4 separate regions of the Homo sapiens genome follow, and all the other regions are linked to region 2. Evidence: promoter capture Hi-C in 16 types of primary human blood cells and fetal thymus (Javierre and others, 2016). All regions are on one chromosome and are shown on one strand. The core of a region is centred on a gene start or on the middle of the fragment in contact, and the rest is flanking DNA. Distances in the headings are between cores, read along the strand shown.

What was found. Contacts are between HindIII fragments. The CHiCAGO score rates a contact against its expected background, and 5 or more counts as called.
Region 1: a fragment that was not itself captured here is called in contact with the fragment with the promoter of ZDHHC2 in region 2 in 1 of 17 cell types (M0 macrophages); the score reaches 5.7 in M0 macrophages.
Region 3: a fragment that was not itself captured here is called in contact with the fragment with the promoter of ZDHHC2 in region 2 in 5 of 17 cell types (total B cells, naive B cells, total CD4 T cells and 2 more); the score reaches 10.3 in total B cells.
Region 4: a fragment that was not itself captured here is called in contact with the fragment with the promoter of ZDHHC2 in region 2 in 2 of 17 cell types (M0 macrophages and M1 macrophages); the score reaches 6.3 in M0 macrophages.

The regions. Positions count from the first base shown.
Region 1 is chr8:16,133,486-16,136,593 of GRCh38, forward strand. All of the region lies in intron 8 of MSR1 (macrophage scavenger receptor 1), which reads right to left. Among named protein-coding and RNA genes, the nearest start is that of MSR1, 58 kb to the right of the region's middle. The HindIII fragment of the contact is 154 bases long and covers 1,592-1,745 here.
Region 2 is chr8:17,154,879-17,157,731 of GRCh38, forward strand. It overlaps ZDHHC2 (zDHHC palmitoyltransferase 2), which reads left to right and starts at 1,604. Exons shown (of 13, transcript NM_016353.5): 1 at 1,604-1,975. The coding sequence starts at 1,846. RefSeq lists a silencer at 1,063-2,422. The HindIII fragment of the contact is 4,757 bases long and covers 1-2,853 here.
Region 3 is chr8:15,373,848-15,377,060 of GRCh38, forward strand. No RefSeq gene overlaps it. Among named protein-coding and RNA genes, the nearest start is that of SGCZ, 140 kb to the left of the region's middle. The HindIII fragment of the contact is 7,465 bases long and covers 1-3,213 here.
Region 4 is chr8:16,113,038-16,116,090 of GRCh38, forward strand. The region is part of intron 9 of MSR1 (macrophage scavenger receptor 1); the gene reads right to left. Among named protein-coding and RNA genes, the nearest start is that of MSR1, 78 kb to the right of the region's middle. The HindIII fragment of the contact is 3,802 bases long and covers 1-3,053 here.

The DNA of each region.
Region 1 (3,108 bases), core at 419-2,918, 1.0 Mb before region 2:
GAAGCTTTCCTGGGAGTTTACTGTTAAAACTTTGGATAACTTTCTCAAAATACTCTCATAGTAAGCCTAGGTTACCATTCTTTGGCCCTCCAGGAAGTCAACAAGAAAAATCACTTGAGCATCCTCAAAAACTGTTGTGAGAACCTTTGTTCTTGACTGGTCTGCTTTTGCTTTGACTGTAACACTTCTACCTCTTGGTAGCCATTGCTTTGATTATGCATTGTCTTCAGGATTATACTGGGAAATCCATGTTTTATCTTCTCCTATAATTCTTCAAATAAATGCCTCAGGATATTGACCCCACTTATTTAAGATTTCCACTGAAAGCTCTGCTGTTGTCTGCAGCTGATCTGGACACAATAGTTTTGGCACCCATCTAGAAAAAACTTTACTCAACCTTAATTTCTAAGTCACAGTTGTGCAAGCCAAACCAGTTGAGATGTCTGTGGTGTTGGCTGTTGTTCTGCTGTCTCAGTTCTTTTCAATTAAGGCACAAACAAGATGTATTTTTTTCCTCACAAATTGACGTGGATAGTCAGCTGCTGCAGGGTTCATCTTCAATATTTTCTTATCCCTTTGTAAAACTGAGTTCTCTTTTTGTCAACTGCTGATTCCTTTGGGACATTGTGCCTATAAACTTTTCATAAAGTATCGGTGATTTCACCATTCTTCCAAACAAGTTTCATCATAAATTTCATGTGTGTTCTTGGTTCCATTTTAGCAATATTTATGTGGCTCTGATAGGGGCTCTTTTTAAATAGATACCTTATTGTTCTTAGTGCATCAAATTAGATTCTATTCAGACATGTTATAATAAGCTAGCTTGTTTTAGTGCAGAATTTTTGAAATCCATGTATAGTGTTTTCCTAATACATATTTTCCATGATTTTTTGAAGACCCCTTGCATTTGTTATGGCAATCAGTGACCTTTGAGATTACTACTGTGATTAGTTTGGGGAACCACAAACCATGCCCGTAAAAGATGGCAAACTTAGTTGATATATGTTGTGTGTATTCTGACTGCTCCACCAACTGGCTGTTCCCCCTTCTGTCTCTCTTCCTCTCCTCAGGCATCCCTATTCCCTGAGACACAGCAATATTGAAATTAAACAAATTAGTAACCTTAACAACGGCCTCTAAGTGTTCCATTGAAAGGAAGAGTGGCACATCTCTCATTTAAATCAAAAGCTACACATGATAAACCTTAGTGAGAAAGGCGGGTTGAAAGTCAAGACAGGCTGAAAGTATGAAATTTACCTAAGTTGTAAATGTGAGAAAAAGTTCTTGAAAGCAATTAAAAGTGCCACTCCAGTGAACACAAAAATAATAAGAAAACAAACCACCTTATTGCCGATATAAAGTTTTAGTTAGTGGCCTTCATATATGATCAAAATAACCATGACACTCACTTAAGACAAATCCAAGTCCAGAGCAAGGCTCTACCTCTCTTCAATTCTATGGAGGCTGAGAAAGGTGAGGAAACTGCAGGAGAAAAGTTGGAAGCTAGCAGAGGTTGGTTCATAAGGTTTAAGGAAAGAAGCCATCTCCATAACATAAAAGTACAAGATGATTTAGCAAGTGTGGATATAGAAGCTTCAGAAAATTGTCCAGAAGATCTAGTTAGGATAATTGATGAAGGTTACTACACTACACAACAGATTTTCAATGTAGATGAAACAGCTTCTGTTGAAAAAGATGCCATCTATAACTTTCATACTTAGAGAGGAGTTCATGCTTGACTTCAAAGCTTTGAAGTATAGGCTAATTCCCTTGTTAGGGGCTAATGCAGCCAGTGACTTTAAGTTGAAGGAAATGCTCATTTGCTATTCTGAAAATTCTAGGGCCCTTATGAGTTATGCTAAATGTCCTCTCCCTGTGCTCTAGAAATAGGACAATGAGGCCTGGGTGACAGCACGTCTGTTGACAGCATGGTTTACTGAATATTTTAATCTTACTGTTGAGACTTATTGCTGAGAAAAAAAATCCTTTTAAAATATTACTGCTCATTGAGAGTGCACCTGGTCACCCAAGAGCTCTGATGGAGATGGACAGAAAGACTGGTGTTGTTTTCATGCCTGCTAACACAATATCCATTGTGTAGCCCATGGATCCAGGATTAATTTTTACTTTCAAGTCTTATTACTTAAGAAATACATCTTGTAAGGCTGTAACTGACACAGAGAGTGATTCCTCTGATGTGTCTGAGCAAAGTAAATTGAAAACTTTTTGGAAAGGTTTCACAATCCTATATGGCATTAAAATAATTTATAATTCATGGGAGAAGGTCAAAGTATTGAGGTTAACTGAAATTTGGAAGAAGTTGATTCCAACCCTCATGAATGACTGTGAGGGGTTCAAGACTTTAATGGAGAAAGTCACTACAGATGTGGTATAAATAATAAGAGAAGTGGAGAACTAGAATTAGAAGTGGAGCCTGAGGATGTGGCTGAATTGCTGCAATCGATAAAACTTGAATGGATTAGGGGTTGCTTCTTATGGATGAGCAAAGAAAGGGTTTTTTTGAGATACAACCTACTCCTGAAGGGAAGATGCTGTGAACATTGTTGAGACGACAACAAAGGATTTAGAGTATCATATAGATTTAGTTGACAAAGCAGCAGCAGAGTATGAGAAGACTGATTTTAATTTTGAAAGAAGTTCTAAAGTGGGTCAATGCTATCAAATAGCATCCATTGCATGCAGCAGAGAAATCTCTCATGAGGAGAAGACTCCATCAACGTGGCATATTTCATTGTTGTCTTAAGAAATTGCCACAGCCACCTCAATCTTCAGCAACCATCACGCTGATTAGTAAGCAGCCATCAACACGGAGGCAAGACCCTCCACCAGAAAAAGATAACAACTTCCGGAAGGTTCAAATGATTGTTAGCATTTTTTAGCAATAAAGTATTTTAAAAATTAAAGAACACTTAATAGACTCCAGTGTAGTGTAAATATAACTATTATATGCACTGGGAAACCAAAAAATTTGTCTGGCATGTTTCATTGTGATAATTGCTTTTTTTTTGCCTTGGTCTGGAACTGAAACCACAATATGTCCACAGTATGCCTGTATTAGCTATACACTCTATTAAGGAACACATCTAT
Region 2 (2,853 bases), core at 354-2,853:
TATGGAAAATCCGATTCCTTCCTTTTCATACCTTGATGGTCTCTATTGACCTTCAGTCACTGATTTGCTTCTCTTTGTGAGGGTATTTCAGTCCCAGGAGGAAGTTTTAATTCCTGTTTTTTACTCTCTTCTGATTGGGGGGGAACACAGGATTAATATTCATGGAAAACATTAAGGAATCCAGAGAAGTTTTATTTTTACATTAATATACAGAATATCCACAGAGAATATAAAAGGCTACAGCAAAATCAAGTGATTCACTGGGACATAATATGTCTCTCTTTTCAATTATTTAAAGTCCCACAGAAACTTGACTGACATTTTCTATGCATTTTTGAAGAGAAATGGAAAGAGATGTGGGGTGGGGGGCTGTAACATAGTAGCTATTTCGGGAGAGATTAGCTTGTTGTGTAATCCAGTCACAGAAAGATAATCGCAGACACCAGAGCTAAATTTCTTTGACTGAATTCATGTAAATCAGTATTTTTTTTTTACTTCTACACATGAATAAGAAGTAATTTCATTCACTGTGGTTGCTGTGTGGTGTAAATACACATATTCACTAATGTTAAGAAAAATTGTGCCTATTATGTATAGTAGTGATGCACATAATTTACACACACTCATTGATTGAAATGTTTCCCTGTGGATCAGGTGCGTTCATAATCAGATGAAGGAAAAGCAAAGGAGGCATTTGTTTATTTTCCATTTCGTGAATCATAAAATCAGAGGTTTGGGCTGACTACCTTTAGGTTCCCTTACGGTGTTTTTTGGGAACCGCTTTGGAGTCAGCTATCTGCTAAGTTTGGAATTGCCACCACGAAAGTAAACACCGTAGTGAGGAGCGGGTTGAGGAAAAGAATAAATAGTTGGTGGAAGGAACCACCGTACTTGAGGGAGGGGACAGTGGGAACGGCCCCTGTCACAATCATTTATCCAAAGCATCAACATTCTCAGAGCAAAGAACTTGTGTTTCTAACTCCAGAGGTGCCTGGATTCACAGCCAAAAATGCTTCTTCCTCGCTCTCCACAGCCCCTCCCATGCCAGACGCCGGCTCGGCACCCCCTCTTCGCTGTGCATTTCTGCTTCCCCCGAAAGCCCGAGTAGTAAAGGGAGGCTCCTTGCGGCCCCCGCGGGCTCCCAGGGACCCGCAAGTTGAAGCGCGAGGGTTCCACGCGGGCTGCGGGGACGCGGGCCTCGGTGCTGCAGACTTTCTCAGGGCGCCTGGGTCGCGGCAGGCGCGGAGTCCCGAGCGCAGCAGCTGCTCCGCCGGCCTCGCCTCCGACCCCCGCCCTGCGCCAAGCGCGGAAGCGCTCGCGACCTAACTGCCCCGGGTGCCGGGCGCCTAGGGAGGGGCCGCCACCGCCCGCTCCGCCCCGGGGGCCTGCGCCCAGCAGCCCCCGCCTCCCCGGAATCCAGAGGCCGAGCCGGAGGCGGCGGGGCCACGGTGGGAGCCCGCGAGGTGGCCCGAGCGAGGGCCCCGCATCCCCGCAGAGCCCGCCCGAGGGCGCAGCCTGCCACGCCAGGGGAGGCGGCCGGGCGGCGGGGAACGGCGGGGGCGGAGCGCAGCCTCCCGACGCCGCCGCCTCACCGCCCCCCTCCGCCTCCTCGGCCTCCGCTCGCAGCCGCCGCCTCCGCCTCCGCCGGGCTGAGGAGCCGGGAGTCCGCCGCGCCGGCTCGGGGCTGCGGGATGGGGAGTTAGCGCCACGGCGGCGGCAGTGGCCGCAGCGCACCCCGCCGCCGCCCAGGAGCCCGTCCAGCCAGGGGTGCCGGGCCCGCCCAGCCCGCCCCGGAGCCAGGCCCGCGGGCGGCGGCGGAGCTGGGCAGGTGGATGCGGCTGGAAGATGGCGCCCTCGGGCCCGGGCAGCAGCGCCAGGCGGCGGTGCCGGCGGGTGCTGTACTGGATCCCGGTGGTGTTCATCACCCTCCTGCTCGGCTGGTCCTACTACGCCTACGCCATCCAGCTGTGCATAGGTGAGTGCGCCCCCCGCCGCGGCGCCCCCAGCGCAGCGCAGCCCACCCCGACTGTCCCGGGACGCTCAGCCGCTCCTCCGCTCTCGCCCCCCGGATGCGCCCCGGGCGCTGCCAACCTGCCGCGTCCCGCCGGCTCCGCCGCTAAAAGCAGCCTCGGGGCAGCTTCTTCCACGCGCACGCCCCTCGCCCTCCCCTCCCAACTCTCGGGTTAAGGTGGCGCCTCCGCCCCGCACTCGCCGCCGAGCCTCCCGCCGCCTTCCGCTCACCGCCGCCGCCTCGGCCACACCCCCTAGAGGGGCGGAAGGTCCCCGGGACCGCTGTGGAGAGGGGAGGCCGAGGCCGGCGAGGCGCGCCGGGGGCTGAAGGGCTGAGCTGGGCCCGGCCCCGAGCTGCGCCAGACCCGCGCGGGGGTGCTGGCCTTGGCGGCGGAGCTGGATCCCTTGCTGGTTGGCGTCAATGCACTTGTTAAAAATTTGTGACAGCGCTCAGGGGCGTTTTTGCTGCCTTTATGATTTGAGGATTGCCAGTTGGACACTTTTCTAGTTTAAAAGGATGTGGAGGAGGTGAGCTACTAGAAAGTATTTTTGAGGACATGTGCAACACACTAAACCATAATTTAGGTGTTTGAACAGTAGGGAGAGAAAAAAAGAGGTGATCGTCTGAGGTTTTTACATCCAGAGAGCGAAGTGGCTCCAGTCCGAGTTCGAGGTTCCTGAATTGGTGGGTAGGATACTTTTAATGCTGAAGATTAAAATTTTTTAAAAAGTTGATTATTATGCACAAGTAGGGAGTACAATGATGTCGCTTAATGTAAGCTGGTTTCTACCTTCAGGGGTTTTATGAAAACTGATCTGGGTTATCAGAAAAAGATGTTAAAA
Region 3 (3,213 bases), core at 620-3,119, 1.8 Mb before region 2:
TATATATATATATATTCTCCTGCCTCAGCCTCATGAGTAGCTGGGATTACAGGCACACACCACCATGCCCGGCTAATTTTTGTATTTTTTGTAGAGACAGGGTTTCACCCTGTTAGCCAGGCTGGTCTTGAACTTGTCACCTCCAGTGATCCGCCTGCCTTGGTCTCCCAAAATGTTGGGATTACAGGTGTGAGCCATGGTGCCCGGTCAATACAACGTATTTAATTGTTTGCTCTTACTGAGTCGCTGTTGTCAAAATGTCCATTCACAGTGACTTCTGGACCATGCCTTCTAGAATGCTTGCCTTCTAGTCCCCTACACTGTACTTCTCATGCCTCTTCTCTTCTTGTTTTGCGCAAAAGCCTAGCTATACACTGGGTGATTTCCTTCTTCTTCAGCATTTCCCAGAGGTTGTTTAGCCTCTTCCTAGAAAATTGCAGTGGCAAGGATCTAACCATCTTGTAAACTAGCCTAATTGTCTTCCAAAAGCTCTATTAGAAATTGCCTCCTTACAGCATTCCAAAATTTGTTTTTTTCTAAGTTAGCCCATTACTACTTTGATGTATCTGGGACAATATAAAATGTTTATGCCTTCTTCCTCATGACAACTCTTAAAAACTTGAGAATAGAAACCATAGCTTCCCCTCAATCTAAACACACCTACGTTTCCTTGTGTGCTATTTTGGTTCTCGGTTCTCCCACCTCTCCCTGTGCTTTCTTTTAACACAGGTCATTGTGGCTGTGGTCCTTTTAAAACAGCGTTGCCTTGAAGCAAGCACAGGACTCAGTTGTAGGACCCAGTGTAGAGTGAAGATGGACTATTTCTGTGTGTAAGAATTGTGTACCACATTAATCCACACATTGTGGGGCTTACTACTTGTATATTTACCCTCTGCCATATCCGTTTTCTGAATGTAAGCATCTTCAGCCTCACTGTATGTCCTTCACAGATACAAATATATCTAGGAATGTTTCAGTCCACATAGTCACATCGAATATGGTAAACTCTGGCCACCTGGCTGAGACATCACCTCCCAACCTTCTAGCAGTAGTTTGAGAAGCTAGAATATCAATTAGTATAAATTTTAAAACTTGTGGCATATTTCAACACATCAGGATGCAAAACACCATCTGCAAGTAAGAAAAACTGGCATTGGCCCCCCTGGCTGGATACTTTTACAGAGGCTTTGAGCCTGTAAGAATGTTTACTTCTACCCAATACAACCAACCCACTGAAGAGACACTGAAATAACTCTATTTCTCCCAACTGCAGTATCACAGACAAGCCCACTCAGCCAGTCAGTCTTTCTCTCAGAATAAATATAATTTACTCTAATAGGTTCCATGTTATCAAGCCTTTTAGCCACGATTTAATTGAACTGAACCGTTTCATTTTACCTACAAGGAACAGCAAGTGTTCTGCCAATTGCATGATAATAGAGTTTCAATTGGAGTTTACCACAGCCAATCAAAAGTCTAATACTTCAGCTGAGATGCAAACACTTCCTTCTTTGAAAAATATGGCCAGTTATGAGTAGCATGCATTTCATACTACTCCCAAAAGCGAAAAATACTAATTTGTTTAAATATTTGAAAAAAAAAAAAGAATTGTTTCATTTTAATAAACTTTTTATTTGAAAACTGTTTTAGATCTACATAAAAATTGAGGAGATAACACAGAGGGTTCCCATAAACCCAATACGCAGACTCTCTCGTTATTAACACTACATTAGTGTGGTACATTTGTCAAAAGCAATAAATCAATATTGATACATTATCATTAACTAAGGTCCAGTCTTTATTCAGATTTCATTAGTCTTTTTTCCTAATGTCCTTTATCTGTTCCAGGAACTCTTTTGGAGTAATGCAATCCATTCAGTCACAATCTGTTCTCAGGCTCCTCTTAGCTGTGATAGTTTCTCAGGCTTTTCATATTTTTTATAATCTTGACAGTTTTGGTTAGTACTGGTCAGGTATTTTGTAGATTATCTATTAATTAAGATTTATCTGATCTTTTTCTCATAAATAGGGCTCATGAGTTTGGAGGAGGAAGATTACAGAGAGAAAGTATATTCTCATCACAACATATCAAAGGTATACTAACCAAAAACATGACTTAACACTGTTGATATGACTTGGTCACCTGGCTGAGGGAGTGTTAATATGCAGCGCTTAATGAGTGGGCAGTCATGTTCCACCTTCTTGAGAGTGGAGTATCTACATAAATTATTTGTAATTCTTCTGCATGGGATATTTGTCTCTTCTCCCCCATTTATTTGATTATTTGTATCCATTTAGATCCTGGACATTTATTTTAATTCTATGTTAAAATCCAATACAACTTTGTTTTTGTTGTTTTTGTTCAAATTATTTTAGCTTTGGCGTTTGGAAGCTGTTTCAGTTGACTCCTATGCCTCTTAGACTTACTTCCGTCATTTTGTGTATATATGTGTGTGTGTGTGTGTGTGTGTGTGTGTGTGTGTGTGTATGTGTGCTTTTGAGTACTGCCTTAATTTCTGGCACTACAAAATACTCCAGGCTCATCTTGTATATTTCCTGCTTCCATCCTGGAATCAGCCATTGCTCCAAGGCACCCTTGTTCCTTTTATTGAATAAATCTGGTAGAGACCAAGATCATTGTGTTAGATGCGCTGATTGCTACTGTGGGGTCATTGCTTCAAGCCCCTTGAGCCATGTCTATTCATCTATACAAGCATCTATATAGATAGATACTATGTTAAGTAATACAACTTTAATTAATGAAATGTAACTTATTAGGTCAACCCATATGAAATTGCTATTTTGTCACAAGCAAAAATTGCTATGGTGTCAAAAGCACTAAAATATCAATAATTATTCATGGCTCAACCTAATACTTACAAAAAAGTACATAAACAGATATCCATGCCACATCCAGTAAACAAGAGAAAAGAACCAGTACCAGCACACACGCATCTACCATACACTCCTTCCTCCTAGAGATACTCTCCAATTCTGTAATGATTGCTTTTTTACTCACCTTATATATAGTATAAACTTTAACACTGAAGTGTGCATTACAAAAATATTTAGCTTTTCCTGTTTTTCTTTTAAGTAAATAGAATCATAATGCATGTAGCATTTTGTGTCTTATATTTGTCTTGTGTTACGTATAGCTTTCATTCATTTTCATTTTCACTGTGTATAATAATTTAAAATATCAATGTGCAACAA
Region 4 (3,053 bases), core at 34-2,533, 1.0 Mb before region 2:
TTCCTGGGTTCAAATGATTCTCCTGCCTCAGCCTCCTGAGTAGGTGGGATTACAGGTGTGCACCACCACGCCCAGTTAATTTTTGTATTTTTAGTAGAGACGGGGTTTCACCATGTTGGCCAGAATGGTCTCGATCTCTTCACCTTGTGATCCACCCACCTCAGCCTCCCAAAGTGCTGCGATTACAGGGGTGAGCCACTGTGCCTGACCTCCTCTTCACCTCTTTTTAAAAAATGAAAGATACTGATATTTCTTTGGGGGATTTGGGTATCTTTAATCTTACCAGCATTTCCATGAAAAATAAAAGGTAATCAGTTTCATACATCATCCAGATATATTATAAAATGATGAGATTTGAGATCAGCTGCTGAATAGATAAATGGGAGAGCAAATATCATTAATAGTTAAAAGTGCCTGAATGTGTATTTTCATTATTTCTAGTCATGACTGAGTGACATAAATTTGTATGACTTTTAAGCCTAGTTGGGAAGTGTTTTGTGAACAGTGTCTCCATTGAGAAAAACAATGTAAATTAAAGTTGAAAACACCTTGGGAATCAAAGTAGAGAAGAATGGGTCAATATAGCCTATAGTTTGGATTGTAGTTTTGTGCTTATAGAGAAACCACTCATTTTTCCTCAATTTTATGATATGCAGAATAAAGGAGTAAGGCTAACATAGCTTTAAGACTTTGTCTACCTTTAATATTTCATGATACTAAGATTCTGAAGAAGCAAGCTCTTTAGAAATGAAGATCTTAAGTATAAAGGACTTGGAAGGATGTTCCATCTGGTGGAGAAAGCATGGTATGAGAGAAAGGTTAAGGCATGAATCTTGACCCTTCTTCCCACTCCCACCCACCCCCAACCACCCCCAACCACCATAATGACTACGTAAATTTGTACAACTTTGATGACCTCTGCTAGCCCTACTTATTTTCTCTATGAAAAAAATATGCTATTTTTCTGTGATTACCCAGCTGTATGGACCAGCCCTATACTACTTTCCATAATATTTAACATTCAAATGTTTACATTTTAAAACATTCAACATGCAAGGAGCAGTATGTAAAAATTTGACTTGTGACCCTTTGATATATTTATTTATCTTTGAGATTATATTTACTCCCATTCATTAAGGGATAGTTCAGAGGTATAGAGGTGCATTTTTTGATTGCCTTCTGTTTACCCTTACATTTTTTTTTTGAAAATTTCACATAGAAAATTGATTATGGTATGTAAAAGTGGTAATAAAAAAGCAAAGAAAAGACAGCTAAGAATAACTTTTAAATGGCATTTATGTTTATATATTACTTTTGTTTCTCTTTTCAGGTTTGGAGTTTCAGCACTATAAACTCAGGAGAAGAAGCAATAGTTACTCCAGATCTTACTTCCCTCATCAGCATCCATACAGGCTCAGATATACCTGGAACAAATTCTTGGAGGTACCACTGTTGTATGATAAAACTCATCCAAGTTTGCTGCAGGGAGACCACAGGCACAATAGCTGGGAAAGCCTGGATACGGGGCAAAAAGTGACTCACTCTCCTTTCCCTGCCCTGTGCATTGATAAACAGTAGATGCCCCTCAGTGCTTCCTTAATTAAACTTGTTTTGTCTAGTCAGAAAAAAAGGTGCATCCAAATGAGAGAACCTATTTAAAGGAGCATGCTTGAAACTTTATTCCTATAAGTCATTTTACCTGCAGCTGCAAAACTAATTGTTCTTAAAACTAAGGATTCTATCTGCTAAGCCAGGTTTGCTATTTAAAACCAGAAAAAAATATGTGGAGACTGTCCAAAAATTATATTCTTTCTATAATGGTGCATTATAAAAAGAGGGTTCATTTAAATTGTTTTCTGGCTGGGCACAGTGGCTCATGCCTGTAATCCCAGCACTTTGGGAGGCTGAGGTGGGTGGATCTCGTGCGGTCAGGAGTTCGAGACCAGCCTGACCACCATGGAGAAACCCCGTCTCTACTAAATATACAAAAAATTAGTTGGGTGTGGTGGTGCATGCCTGTAATCCCAGCTACTTGGGAGGCTGAGGTAGGAGAATCGCTTGAACCTGGGAGGCAGAGGTTGCGGTGAGCCGAGATTGTGCCACTGCACTCCAGCCTGGGCAACAAGAGCGAAACTCCATCTCGAAAAAAAAATTGTTTTCTTTTTGTTTCAATTTTGGTAATGATGTACAATATGATATGAACCTGATTCTTCTCACTTTCCTAAGAGAAGGATAAATAATTAAAACAATGCATGTTTCTCTTTTAGTTCTTTACTCATCCACTCATTTTTCTAAGTTTCTTTTCTTGTCTCTACTCTGTATTTAAAATTGCTTTTTCTTTTCCTCTTGAGTGAAACTGTGAATTTAAGGTGGAGGAGTGAAAAAATCAGGAATGTTTTAAATAGCTTTCCATAAAAACCTCGTTTGCCATGTCTAATCCCCAATCAGTGAATAATGTAAGCCTGTCTCTTAAAATACAATATCCAGTGAAGTAGATCATAAAACTTACTTTTCAAATCATTTTCTTCAGAACAAATAATGTTGGTTCTATTTTTTTCTCTCAGCTCATTTTGCTTTATTATTTTAAAATTCTCATAATTATTCTTTAGTTGTTTGGTACTGAACTCTACGCAGGGAGTGGAAACAACAGCTAAGTCAAACCAGGTGCAGTGGTTCACACTTGTCATTCCAGTACTTTGGGAGGCTGAGGCAGGAGGATTGCTTGAGGCTAGGAGTTTTAGATGAGCCTGAGCAACTTAGCAAGAACCTGTCTCTATAAGAAATTAAGATTTAAAAAAAAATTAGCCAGGTATGTGGTGCAGGCCTGTGGTCCCGAGAAACTCTGCAGGCTAAGGTGGGAGGATCGCTTGAGAGCAGGAGTTTGAGGCTGCATTAACCTGTGATTGTACCATTGTATTCCAGCCTAGGTGACAGAGTAAGACCCTGTCTATAAAATAAAAAATCTAAGTCATATTAGTGGGATATCTACTTTGAATTAGCCTTGGAATATCACTGATGTCAATATACAATGTAATAGCGATCTCACTCTTTCA